Linked DNA regions of Homo sapiens: region 2 is linked to region 1. Evidence: promoter capture Hi-C in human tissues and cell types (Jung and others, 2019). All regions are on one chromosome and are shown on one strand. The core of a region is centred on a gene start or on the middle of the fragment in contact, and the rest is flanking DNA. Distances in the headings are between cores, read along the strand shown.

Evidence for each region. The method cuts DNA at HindIII sites, captures the fragments that hold promoters and counts their contacts. A contact is called where the count stands out against the background at its distance.
Region 2: a fragment that was not itself captured here is called in contact with the fragment with the promoter of CATSPER4 in region 1 in 1 of the 25 tissues and cell types used here (mesenchymal stem cells).

The regions. Positions count from the first base shown.
Region 1 is chr1:26,189,180-26,195,517 of GRCh38, reverse strand. CATSPER4 (cation channel sperm associated 4) reads right to left here and starts at 4,916. Exons shown (of 10, transcript NM_198137.2): 1 at 4,678-4,916; 2 at 4,088-4,231; 3 at 1,630-1,731. The coding sequence starts at 4,890. CNKSR1 (connector enhancer of kinase suppressor of Ras 1) reads right to left here. Exons shown (of 21, transcript NM_006314.3): 21 at 5,634-6,239. The coding sequence ends at 5,970. RefSeq lists an enhancer at 4,213-5,030. The HindIII fragment of the contact is 15,004 bases long and covers 1-6,338 here.
Region 2 is chr1:26,322,293-26,328,495 of GRCh38, reverse strand. It overlaps CRYBG2 (crystallin beta-gamma domain containing 2), which reads left to right. Exons shown (of 20, transcript NM_001039775.4): 17 at 164-287; 18 at 4,186-4,344; 19 at 6,173-6,203. It also overlaps the pseudogene RPL34P4. Among named protein-coding and RNA genes, the nearest start is that of CD52, 7.4 kb to the right of the region's middle. The HindIII fragment of the contact is 4,294 bases long and covers 2,758-6,203 here.

The DNA.
Region 1 (6,338 bases), core at 3,667-6,166:
AAAAAAAAAAAGAAAAAGAAAAAGAAAAAAGAGCCTGGCATCTCCCATCTCCCCTCTCACTCTCTCTCTTTCTTCCTGTCTCGCCATGTGATCTGCACATGCTTCACCTTCTGCCATGAGTGGAAGCAGCCTGAAGCCCTCACCAGAAGCAGATGTTGGCACCATGCTTCTCACACAGCCTGCCGAACTGGGAGCCAAATACAACTCCTTTCTTTATAAGTTATTCAACCTCGGGTATTCCTTTATAGCAACACTAAATGGACAAAGACAATAAAAAAGAGACTATAAATATAAAAACATTACCTAGAAAGGATAGTGGTGGGAGAAGAGGGATGAGGGGACAAAAGAGAAGCAAGAATTCTGTGTGTACCTTTCAACATAGTTTTGACCAGCATGTATCTGCATTAAATATTCAAAAAGAAAACTTTTTTTTTGAAACAGAATCTCTCTCTGTCGCCCAGGCTGGAGTGCAGTGGCGCAATCTCAGCTCACTGCAAACTCCGCCTCCCGGGTTCAAGTGGTTCTCCTGCCTCGGCCTCTAAGTAGCTGGGATTACAGGCACGCGCCACCACGCCCAGCTAGTTTTTGTATTTTTAGTAGAGACGAGGTTTCACCATGTTGCCAGTCTGTCTCAAACTCCTAGCCTCAAGTGATCCTCTTACCTCAGCCTCCCAAAGTGTTGGGATTACAGGCATGAGCCACTGCAGCCAGCAAGAAAACTATACTTAATGAAAAAAAAAAGTTCTTCAATGTATTGGGGGTCCAGTAAGCACAAGTCCTCCTGGCCTCTCGTACTGAGTCTGCACCTTCACATACACAAGGAGATACAAGTCTGCCTGTCTGCAGATCCATCCATATATCAATTCAGCATGTAGCTCCTGTTGTGTGCCATACCCAGATCCAGTTCCTGAGAATATAGGATGCCTGCCCTGTTAGGCTCACAGACTATTTTGAGGAAGATGGATAAACAGAAAATTTTAACTCCATGCAAAAAAAATAAGTGCATAGCATCATGGAGACACAAAGCAGCACCTAACCTAGCCTGGGAGAGACAAGAAGACTTCCTGGAAGAGAAGACATCTGAATGAGTTTGTAAGTAGGAGTAAAGCAAGTGAATAGGGAAAATCAGATTTTATAACACATGAAAATTACATGAAATTCCAATTTGGGTGTCCACGAACACAGCCATGCCCACTTCATTTATGTGTGGTCCATGGTTGCTTTTGTGCTGCCATGGCAGAGGTGAGTCATGGTAACAGAGGCTGTACAGCCATGAAGCTTAAAATCTTTATTATCTGGTCCATTACAGAAAAAGTGTGCTGATCCCTGTTGATCTCTGTAAATTAAGGTAGATGCTTTCAGCCCCATTTCTCAGACAAGGAAGTCAGGTTTGTCCAAGACTACAGAGCTGGGGAAGGCTGGAGCAGGGATTGGAATTGGAGCCCAGGGAGGCTGCACTTCTAGTACCAGTTACTTTCTGCCACATCATACACATCTCTGAACTAACACACTCTGTCTACACACACACACATACTCACACCCTCAGTTTGTAGGGCCAGGAGTACAGGGGCAGACTGGGTGGTGTGCAGTCCCCAGGGGGAAGTAGGGGCAAAGGGCTCAGGATCTCACCTTCCAGAAAATCCAGAAGCCATTGAGCCAGCCAAGGAGAACCTCACAAAGAAGGATGGTCAGCACAATGTCATCTATGGTAGAGAACAACTCATAGTGTTTCTACATGGGAGACAGAGAAAAAAGAGGGGCAGAGAGGTCAGTGGAGCAGGGCCTGGGCAAGCCGGCAGGGAGAGGATGTATGTAGGGGAGGGAAGTCCCGTATCACTGCTGCTCTTGGTCCTCAGCAACCTTGTCACTTCCTTTAAAACACACTTTGCCTGTGCGTGCCAGGCACTGTGCTGGGGCTATCACACATCACTTCATGTTACCATCACTGTTGTCCTGCAAAGTAGGTTTTATTCCCGTCTTACAGAAGTGGAATCAGAGTGGCGCCTGTGTGCACAGCTAGTTGATAAAGATGGTTGTCTGACTATGAACTTTTGTCCCTAACTTCTAGAATAGGGATATTTTGGAGAGGGAGGTAGGAGAGGCAGAACAGCCTCCAGGATTGGGAGGAAAAGGCCTGGCCTCTGAGGGTGGAGAACACCAAGCTCCATCTGTCCTAACCTCTCCTGCTATTCCAGCTCTCCAAATACTCCAAGTTAGGCCTGACCAAACTCCTGGGTATCCTGCCACTCATGGGTCCAGGACATGCACCCTGGATGGATGAATTGGTAGATGGGTGACTGGGGTCTGTCCAGAGCCCAATTCACTTTCTCTCAACCTCGAAACTCCTTCAGCTTCCTTATGGCTGCGACCCCACTAACAGCCCCCATAGTGCCCGACTCCACCTAGCAGTCACCCAAGTCACCGTGTCTCCTCCCTTTCTTTCTTTTTTTTTTTAATGTGACATCTCAGCTCACTGCAAACTCCGCCTCCTGGGTTCAAGCGATTCTCCTACGTCAGCCTCCCAAGTAGCTGGGATTATAGGCGTGCGCACCATGCCTGGCTAATTTTGTATTTTTGTAGAGATGGGGTTTCACCACGTTGGTCAGGCTGGTCTCGAACCCTTGACCTCAAGTGATCTGCCTGTCTTGACCTCTCAAAGTGTCCTCCCCAAAAGTGCGCTTTACCCCAAAGTGCAACAGACTCAGTGCCTTAGGGCCCACTGTCACATATGGCCACTGGAGACAATAGGACATCCACACCATTATTCAAAAAAGCATTCTAAATAGTCCTCAGCCCAGCATGGTGGCTCACACCTATAATCTCAGCACTTTGGGAGGCCAAGGCTGGAGGATTGCTTGAGCCCAGGAGTTCCAGACCAGCCTGGGCGACAGAGCGAGAACCTGTCTCTACAAAAAAAATTTTTTTTTTGAGATAGAGTCTCGCTCTGTCGCCCAGGCTGGAGTGCAGTGGCACAAACTCGGCTCACCGCAACCTCCGCCTCCCTGCTTCAAGCGATTATCCTGCCTCAGCCTCTCAAGTGGCTGGGATTATAGGCGCCCACCACCATGCCTGGCTAATTTTTGTATTTTTAATAGAGACGGGGTTTCACCATGTTGGCCAGGCTGGTCTTGAACTCCTGACCTCAGGTGATCCACCCACTTTGGCCTGCCAAAGTGTTGGGATTACAGGCATGAACCACTGCGCCTGGCTCAAAAACATTTTTTTAATTAGGCATGGTAGCTCGTGCCTGTAGTCCTAGCTACTTGGGAGGCTGAGGCAGGAGGATCACTTGAGTCCAGGAGTTCAAGGCTGCATTGAGCCAAGATGGCGCCACTGCACACCAGCCTGGGTGACAGAGTGAGACCTTGTCTCTAAAAAAAAAAAAAAAGAAATTAAAACATCAAGGATAAGTCACACTAAACTTCAAGTTGGACACAGAGAAGTCTCTCACATGCTGTTTCTTTTCCCCAAAAAGTCTCCCCCACCTCTCTTTGCCTGGCCAACTCCTACGTGCTCTTTTTTTCTGTTTCTTTGTTGTGGTGACTGAGATCACATCCTACTTCTTTACTCTCAGCTCCAGTGTCACTTTCTCCAGGAAGCCAGCTCTGACCCCTGAGATTAGGTTCGAGTGCCTTCGTTGAGCCTCCATGTACTCTGGGTGCTACTTGAGCACTTGTAATGACAGTTTCTGTGTGTCTGAGACAGGACCCAGTTGTGCTTATTATCCCTGGGACCCTGGCAGTCTGCACAGTCAGTGCCTGGCACTGAGTGATTCTCCCTTAGTGACTGCTGGTTAGAATTGGATACCCCTTCTCCACAAGGCACCCATTTGCCTCCCTCTGCTCACACCATTCTTCTCCTGTCCCTCCTGTACAAATCCAATGCATTCCTCAAAGCCAGGCTGCAGAGCCCTCTCCATCATGAAGTCTTCCTTGATCTCCAGATTCCTAGAAGGTCAGAGCTGACAGACCCTTGAAGAGCATCCAATCCAACCATCATAGACAGATGAGGAGCCTGAGGCCGGAAGAGTTCTTGCCCCAGGCCCCCCATTAGGGTTAGTGGGGCAGAGGTCATGCTGGCATCCCACCTGGTCCAGGTAGGAGTTGGTACGGAGAGCGATGGTGATGGCATTGATCACCAGCAGCAGGGCCAGCAGCAGTTGGAAGGCGGGGTGTCGGAGCAGCTGCTTGATGTACATGTGAGTGATGAACTCCTGCATGTCCCAGGCGTCCTGGAAGAGGGCAGGACCTTCCTTCAGGCAGGTGTCACCATAGGAAGCCTCTGCCTGGGGGTTTGCTCTTAGAGAATGGGGGTTCCTGGGGCCCACTCTAGAGGGGGGAAATCATCTGAGAGTGGATCATGGAATGGAGACATCAGTGTAGAGATCACTATCTAAATGGCCACTAAAAGTGGGTTACTATCGGGGGATTTTGTGGAAGTCATTGCCAGAGAATCTCTTTGGGCTCTCTGATAGTGAAGATGATCGTTATATAAGGGTTCCTATGGGGGGCATTGCCAGAGAGTTACTAACATATCATGGGCAGTCACTCAGGGATCAGTGCTAGGGAGGGTCTTCTGGGGGCGTTTAGAGGGTAGAGGGGCAGAGTTACCATGAGGGCCTGCTGCCCATGAGCACAGCTGCAGAAGGGGCCACTGTGGGGCGAGAGCTATCCTTACCGCTTTGTTCGTGATTTCCTGGCGGTTGATGAGCACTTGCTCCTCTGGCCGACCGTAGGACTCGTGAATGGTACTCTGCAGGGGAGAGGGGCGGCCCCTCAGTGCAGCTACTGCCCCTCCAAACCCCATACGGTCCTCCTGAGTCCCGCCCCACCCCTCGAGGCCTGTATGGGAGGTCCATTGCTGCCACCAGGCCTTTTCATTATCCCTCATGTTTGCTCAGTCTCTTCCTTCTCCTCAAAGAATCTTCACTCCAAGTGGTCTCACTCCCCCTCGTGGTGATATCACAGAGGCCTCTGTGACCTCCAGCCGTCTGCATTCTACTGAGGAATTCCAACCTGGAGAGAAGCTCCTCCCATTGGCCCTCCTCCGCATCCCACAGAGGAAGTCTGGGGATGCTGTGGGGATGCTGGGCTGGGGTTGGAAGTCAGAGGCTGATGGGAGCAGGTCAGATTTCCCGTGCAGCCTGAATGGAGTCACAGGGACATGTCCCTGCCTTGGATCCAGGAGGTGGAGGTGAGGCTGGAATGAGGAGTGAAGGAGAGAAGTGTTTTCCCCAGGGCCTTCCCAGGGCAGACCTCAACCTGCACCCTTCCCCACCAGCTGCCCTGTCCTACCAGCCCAGTCTCCAGGACTGTCCCCACCACCTTTCCGTGCAAAGTGCATTTCCCCATCTACAAAGTGGAAGTTTCTCATTGTGTGCCCCCCGGGAATGGGGTAGGAGATCACCATTAGCCTTCAAAGAGCTGGGGAGAGGTGGACATGAGTCGGAGCCCTCATTAGCCATGGGTCATCCCCCACCATCCTGGCAGGCTTGGAGCTCGGGTACAGAGCCCAGGCCAACGGGCTGCACGAAGGGTCTGCCACCCACCCTCTGGCCAAGAGCACTCACCCCAGTCCCCACAGGGGGGCAGATTTCCAATTCGAATATGGAAGTAAAGTTACATGTAGACTCATTCTTAGAAAAATTGACTTTATTTGGTTGGAAAGTAGCCCTCATGTAAAATAAAGAACACCTGTACAGACCTGGTTTGGGGGAGAACTGCCAAGGAACTGGAGGGGCAGGGCTGTGGCCCCAGAGGTTGGAGGATTTGGGGGGAGAGTTTCTTCTTTGGCAAGGGAGAGGGTGGCACAAAGCCCAGGCAGAGGGGTCAGCTCGGGGTGAGACCATGACTAGCAGTACTACTTCCCACCCTGAACAGAATCCAGGGATGCTCTGTCCTGGACACGTCAGAAGCTGGGGTTGAGGTGGCCCTCGGGTCAAAGGTCAGGAGCTAGAGTGCTGGCCAGGGTCAGAGGTCAGGAGGTCGGAGGCTGCTCTCTGAGGTCAGGGGGCAGAGATGGGAGTGCTCTTCAGGGTCAGAGGGCAGGGAGTGGGGGGACTGTTCTGTGGAGTCAGAGGTCAAGATGTGGGAGCTGCCTTCAGCCTGTGCCACTCCCCAGGCCCCCAGGCCCTCTGAGTACAGCTCCCGGTTCTGCTCCTTCCACTGGCGGAACTTCTCTCCTGTCAGCTCAGGGTCACCCAGCACTTCTTCTAGGACCTGCAGCTCCTGCAGCTTTGCCTGTGTGGAGAGGAGGGGCTAAGGGACCATGATCACCCAGGGAAGTGGGCAGAGCCCGAGGCCAGACTTCACTCCGGAGGTCCGGTGCCTGGAAGCCAG
Region 2 (6,203 bases), core at 3,655-6,154, 130 kb before region 1:
CAGCCTCCCTCTCCGCCCTGGGAACCCTATTCCAGGCAGAGGAATCCCTCCATGGGAGAAGAGGAGGTGGAGAACGTTTTGACGTCTGTGTCTCCTCCTCCACCTGTCTGTCTGTCTGTGTGTCTGTGCTCTTCTCTGTGTCCCTGACACCTGCTGGGCCCAGTTGGGTGCTATGTGAACACAGTGACTTCCGGGGCCGCCAGTGGCTGGTGGGAAGCTGCGAGATCACCAACTGGCTGACCTACAGCGGCACCCAGAGGGTGGGCTCCCTCTACCCCATCAAGCAGGTGGGTAGCGTGGCTGGAGCTGAGCGTGTCTGGGGCTGAGCGTGTCTGGGCAGGCCTTTCTGGATGAGTGTCTAGCTGTGTGTTTCCCAAACACAGCATTTGTGTACTTTTGTCACAACTTTTGCCACATCGTCATTCCTCTTGAGCCATTGTCTACTTAATATTTTTCTCTAGATTAACTCTCTTTTTAAAAGTCTTTTAATTAATTTTTATTTCTTAAAAAAAGCTTTTTTTTCTCTTTCTTTTTCTTTTTTTTTTTTGTGTGACAGAGTCTTGCTCTGCCACAAAGGCTGGAGCGCAGTGGCAACATCCTGGCTCACTGCAGCCTCCACCTCCCGGGTTTAAGTGCTTCTTGTGCCTCAGCCTCCCAAGTAACTGGGACCACAGGCACGTGCTACCACGCTCAGCTAATTTTTGTATTTTTAGTAGAGGCAGGGTTTCACCATGTTGGCCAGACTGGTCTCCAATTCCTGACCTCAAGTGATCCACCTGCCTCGGCCTCCCAAAGTGCTGGGATTACAGACGTGAGCCACCATGCCCAGCCCTTTTTTTTTTTTTTGAGATGGAGTTTTGGTCTTGTTGCCCAGGTTGGAGTGCAATGGCACGATCTCGGCTCACTGCAACCTCCGCTTCCCAGATTCAAGTGATTCTCCTACCTCATCCTCCGAAGTAGCTGGGATTACAAGTATGTGCCACCACATCTGGCTAATTTTTGGTTTTTTTTTTTGTTTTTTGTTTTTTGAGACGGAATCTCGCACTGTCACCTGGGCTGAAGTGCAATGGCGTGATCTCGGCTCACTGCAACCTCTGCCCCCTGGGTTCAAGCAATTCTCCTGCGTCAGACTCCCAAGTAGCTGGGATTACAGGTGCCTGCCACCACACCCGGCTAATTTTTTGTATTTTTAGTAGAGACGAGGTTTCACTGTAATTGGCCAGGTTGGTCTCGAACGCCTGACTTGTGATCTGCCCACTTCGGCCTCCCAGAGTGCTGGGATTACAGGCATGAGCCACTGCGCCTAGCTAATTTTTGTATTTTTAGTAGAGATGGGGTTTCATCATGTTGGCCAGGCTGGTCTTGAACTCCTGACCTCATGTGATCTGCCCACCTTGGCCTCCCAAAGTGTTGGGATTACAGGCATGAACCACTGTGCCCAGCCCCAGCCCAGTTTTTATTTAGCTTTCTGAGTCTGTGCTTGTGCCTTCAACACTTTCATAAGGATTTTTAGCTGCTGCATAAGGAAAGCAGGCTTGATCCTGCCACGAACACATTTAGCATACCTGGAACCACCATAGGCCCTCCTGACATGTTTTTTGTTTTGGACAATCTCATAAGAACTTTAGACCTCACAACATGAACCCCTTGAAGTCTGCCTGGGCACACGCCACATGCAGATTTTGGTGCTTTCCCAACTTTGTAGGTATAGAGGTCAACAATTCTATTACGAGGGGCTCAGGACAGCCTAGTTTTGTTAGAGGCTGTACCGTAGGAAAGCCTATGACAATATGTCAAATGCTGGAACATTCTCAGTGCCTCTAGACAATATCCCCAGAAGAGGAAAAAGAAAAAAATCACATTTTTTTTAACTTTATCCTTGTCCTAAGGAATAATATCCATAAAGTCATGAGTTTGATGTGTACATATGATTTTCTTTCTTTTTTTTTTTTTTTGAGACAGAGTCTTCTTGCTCTGTCGCCCAGGCAGGAGTGCAGTGGCATGATCTCGGCTCACTGCAAGCTCTGCCTCCCGGGTTCATGCCATTCTCCTGCCTCAGCCTCCTGAGTAGCTGGGACTACAGGCACCCGCCACCATGCCCGGCTAATTTTTTTGTATTTTTAGTAGAGATGGGGTTTCACCATGTTAGCCAGGATGGTCTCGATCTCCTGACCTCATGATCCGCCCGTCTCAGCCTCCCAAAGTGCTGGGTTTACAGGTGTGAGCTACCATGCCCAGCCTGATTTTTTTTCTTAATAGATGTAATAAATACATTGCCATTAATTTTTCAAAAATGAGTTTATAGGCTGGGTGCGGTGGCTCACTCCTGTAATTTCATCACTTTGGGAGGCCGAGGAGGGAGGGTTGCTTGAGCCCAGGAGTTCGAGACCAGCCTGGGCAACATGGCGAGACCCCATCTCTACAAAAAATACAAAAGAAATGAGCTAGGTGTGATGGCTTGTGCTATAGTCCCAGCTACTCGGGAGGATCACCTGAGCCCAGGAGTTTGAGGCTACAGTGAGCCATGATGGCTCCACTGGTACTCCAGCGTGGGTGACAGAGCGAGACCCTGTCTCAAAAAAAAAATAGTTTAGCCACATAGGACTGAAAGTGATCTCATGGACCACCCACTGGTAGTAAGCATACCTCACTTGGGGAAGCACTGCCTGCATATGTGTTTCTGTATGTCCGTGCCTGCATGTCTGAACATCAGTATCATTAATGCACATGTGCAGATAAATGGTAAGGCCATGGGCTCTGTGTGTATGTGTGTGTGCATGCATGTTCCCATCTGAGGGTATTTCTGTGCTCATCAGGTTATTTGTGTCCATGCATCTGTGTGCTCTGGTGATGACCTGTGTGTGTGTGTGTGTGTGTGTGTGTGTATCTGTGGGAGTGCATTCATTTTTTTAATTTTTATTAATTAATTTATTTTTGAGATGGAGTCCTACTCTGTCACCCAGGCTGGAGTGCAGTGGTGTGATCTCGGCTCACTGCAACCTACATCTCCCGGGTTCAAGCGATTCTCCTGCCTCAGCCTCCCGAGTAGCTGTGATTACAGGCGTGTGCCACCACACCTGGCTAATTTTTTTGTATTTTTGGTACAGACAGGGTTTTGCCATGTTGGCCAGGCTGACCTCGAACTCCTGACCTCAGGTGATCCACCCGCCTTGGCCTCCCAAAGTGCTGGGATTACAGGCGTGAGCCTCCGCGCCCGGCCGGGATTGCATTTATGACTGCGCATGCTTGTACTTGTGACACCATTGACAGTGTGTGTATCTTTGTATAAGGATATTTGTGTAGTTCTTGTATTCAAGACTCATAACATCATTGCTGGGAGAAATCTTGGAGATTATCTCCACCCCTCACATTTTACAGATGGGGAAATAAAGGCCCAGAGAAGTGGACACGGATTTGCTCTGCAATCTTGGGCAAGTACTGTACCTCCTTAGACCTTCGTTTCCTCATCTTTAAAATGAGGATAACACGTGTCATGGGTCAGTTTTGAGGACTGAAGATAATGTAGGTAAAACATTATTAGAACAGTGCTTGAGTGAGTCAGCTCTCAACAAACGTTAGCTGTGATTATTGTTATTACTATTATTACTTTTGCTACCATCTAAGAGCTCCAGCTGATTTATGGCAGAGCCATGTCTGATGTCTGACAGTCCAGTGTCCATCCCGTCAGGAACCCTCTTCAACACAGGTGTGTGTGCATTTCTTTCTGTAAGTGTGTGTGCACATCTGTATGCCCACACACATCCACGCTTTTAGCAAGCAGAACTGCCTGGTATGGAGTAGACTGCATGGATCTATGGTTAGAACATGTGAGTTGGATGGCTGCATGTATCCATGTGTTTGTGTCTTCTGTGAACTTCTGTGCCATCATGTGTACCAGAGGTGTATCTGTCAGTTTGTCCCTCTGCACACATCTGTGGGTACCTCTATGACCATGGAACTGTGTGTGTGTGTGTGTGTGTGTGTGTGTGTGAGAGAGAGAGAGATACATGTGCTCTCCGTATGTGTGTGTAAAGAAGCAGTGACTTAGAAATAGAGTCAAGGAAGGTTTGGGGACAGGAGGGAGGGCTTGGGAGCCTGATACTGGAGAGTCCAGAGTTGAGGGTACTGGGGGCCCAGGTCATCCCTCCCCGGCACCCCTGACTCTCAGCCTCTTTCTGCCACCAGCGCCGGGTTTATTTCCGCCTCTGGAATGCAGCACTGGGGGGATTCCTGGCAGTGCCGGACCATGTGGAGGACATGAAAGCAGGCCGTGTGGTGGTCGCCGACCCCCAAGCTGGAGGTAGCTGCATCTGGTACTACGAGGATGGGCTGCTGAAGAACCAGGTACTGATACAGGGGCTGGCACAGGGACACCCTGGCCCTAGGCATTTGCAGGTCCACTCTGGGGAGTCCCAGCCCAATCAGGAACACAGAGGGATGCACACAGAAGCCAGGACCCTGGGGAGAGGGAGAGTGCAGACTGTTCCCCCTGGGCAAGTCGTGCTCTTCTCTGGGCCCCAGTCTGTAAAAACAAGAGCAATGAACTGGGTGCTTCTAAGGGACCTCCCAGCTCTAATGCCCATGACAGAACTTGAACCCTATTAATAATGGTAGATTTGGCCAGGCATGGTGGCTCATGCCTATAATCCCAACACTTTGGAAGGCCGAGGCAGGAGGATTGCTTGAGGACAGGAGTTTGAGGCCAAACAAAAAATTAACTGGGTGTGGTGGTGCATGCCTGTAGTCTCAGGTACTCAAGAGGCTGAGGTGGGAGGCTTGAGCCCAGGAGTTAGAGGCTGCAGTGAGTGAGGATTGCGCCACTGCACTCCAGCCTTGGTGACAGCACAAGACCTGGTCTCAAAAAAAAACAAAAATAAAAATAAGAGAAAAGGTAGATTTACTCCACAGACATTTCTTGAGCACCTACTATGTGCCAGGCTCTGTTCTAGATGCTGGGGATACAGCAGTTATAGACAGAATTGACACCTGCCGTCCTGAAGCTTACATCCTAGTGGGGAGAGATAGACAGAAATAACTTAAATGGGCAGAATATCTTAGTGTCTTACAGGATGAAAGTTCAATAGAGGAAGATAAATCATGAAAGGGGAATAGGCCAGGTGCAGTGGCTCACTCCTGTAATCACAGCACTTTGAGAGGCTGAGTGAGGCAGGAGGATCTCTTGAGCTCAGGAATTCAAGACCAGCCTGGGCAGCATAATGAGATGCCATCTCCACAAAAAATAAAAAAACTAGCCGGATGTGGTGGCATGCACCTGTAGTCCCAGCTACTCAGGAGGCCGAGGTGGGAGGATTACGTGAGCCCAGGAGATTGAGGCTGCGGTAAGCTATGATCACACCACTGCACACCAGCCTGGGCAACAGAGGGAGACTCTGTCTCAAAAAAAAAAAAAGGAGAATAGAAAGTATCAGGTATGGTAGGGGAGCCTTTCCGAAGAAGATGACATTTGAGGGAGGCAGCCATGCAGATATCTGAGGGAAGAGTGTTCCAGGCAGAGGGAACAGCCAGTGCAAAGGCCCTGAGGAAGGAACATGCCTGGGATTTTTCTGGGCTAGCAAGGCTAGCTGGGTGGCTAGAGTGAGTTGAGTAAGGGGGAGGTAGCAGGAGATGAGGCCAGAAAGGTTATAAGGACTGTAGGTCTTTGTAGGCCATTGAGAGGTTTTGTCTTTTACTTAGAATGAGAGAGATGGCTGACCACATGCCAGGCTCTGCATTGAGTTCTTCACACAAATGCCTCCTATAATCTTTAGTCTAGAGTACCGTGGGGCAGGTCTTTTTATACTCCCCATTTTACAGGTGAGGAAACCAGAGCATAGAGAGGTTAGGTAATTTGCTGAAAGTCACACAGCTAGTAAATGTGTAGAGATTTGTCTGATGCTAAAGCCTATGCTTTGGAAGCCAATCATGGAAGGATTCCTGGAGGAGTTAATATTTTTCCAGCCCTTTTATGTTTTCTCACACTGAACCCTCACAAAAGCCAGCATTTGGGGATTCCCATCCCCGAGAGGAAACTGAAGCTGAGGAGGATTAAGAGACTTGCCCAGGGCCACAGTCCCTAAGAGCCAGGATTCAGAGCAGATGGGTCAAGGGTTTCTTGGGTACAGTAGAGTCCCTGTGGGGAGGAACAATGCCTGATGACCTCCTGGGGCCTCAGATGGCCCCCACCATGAGCCTACAGGTGATTG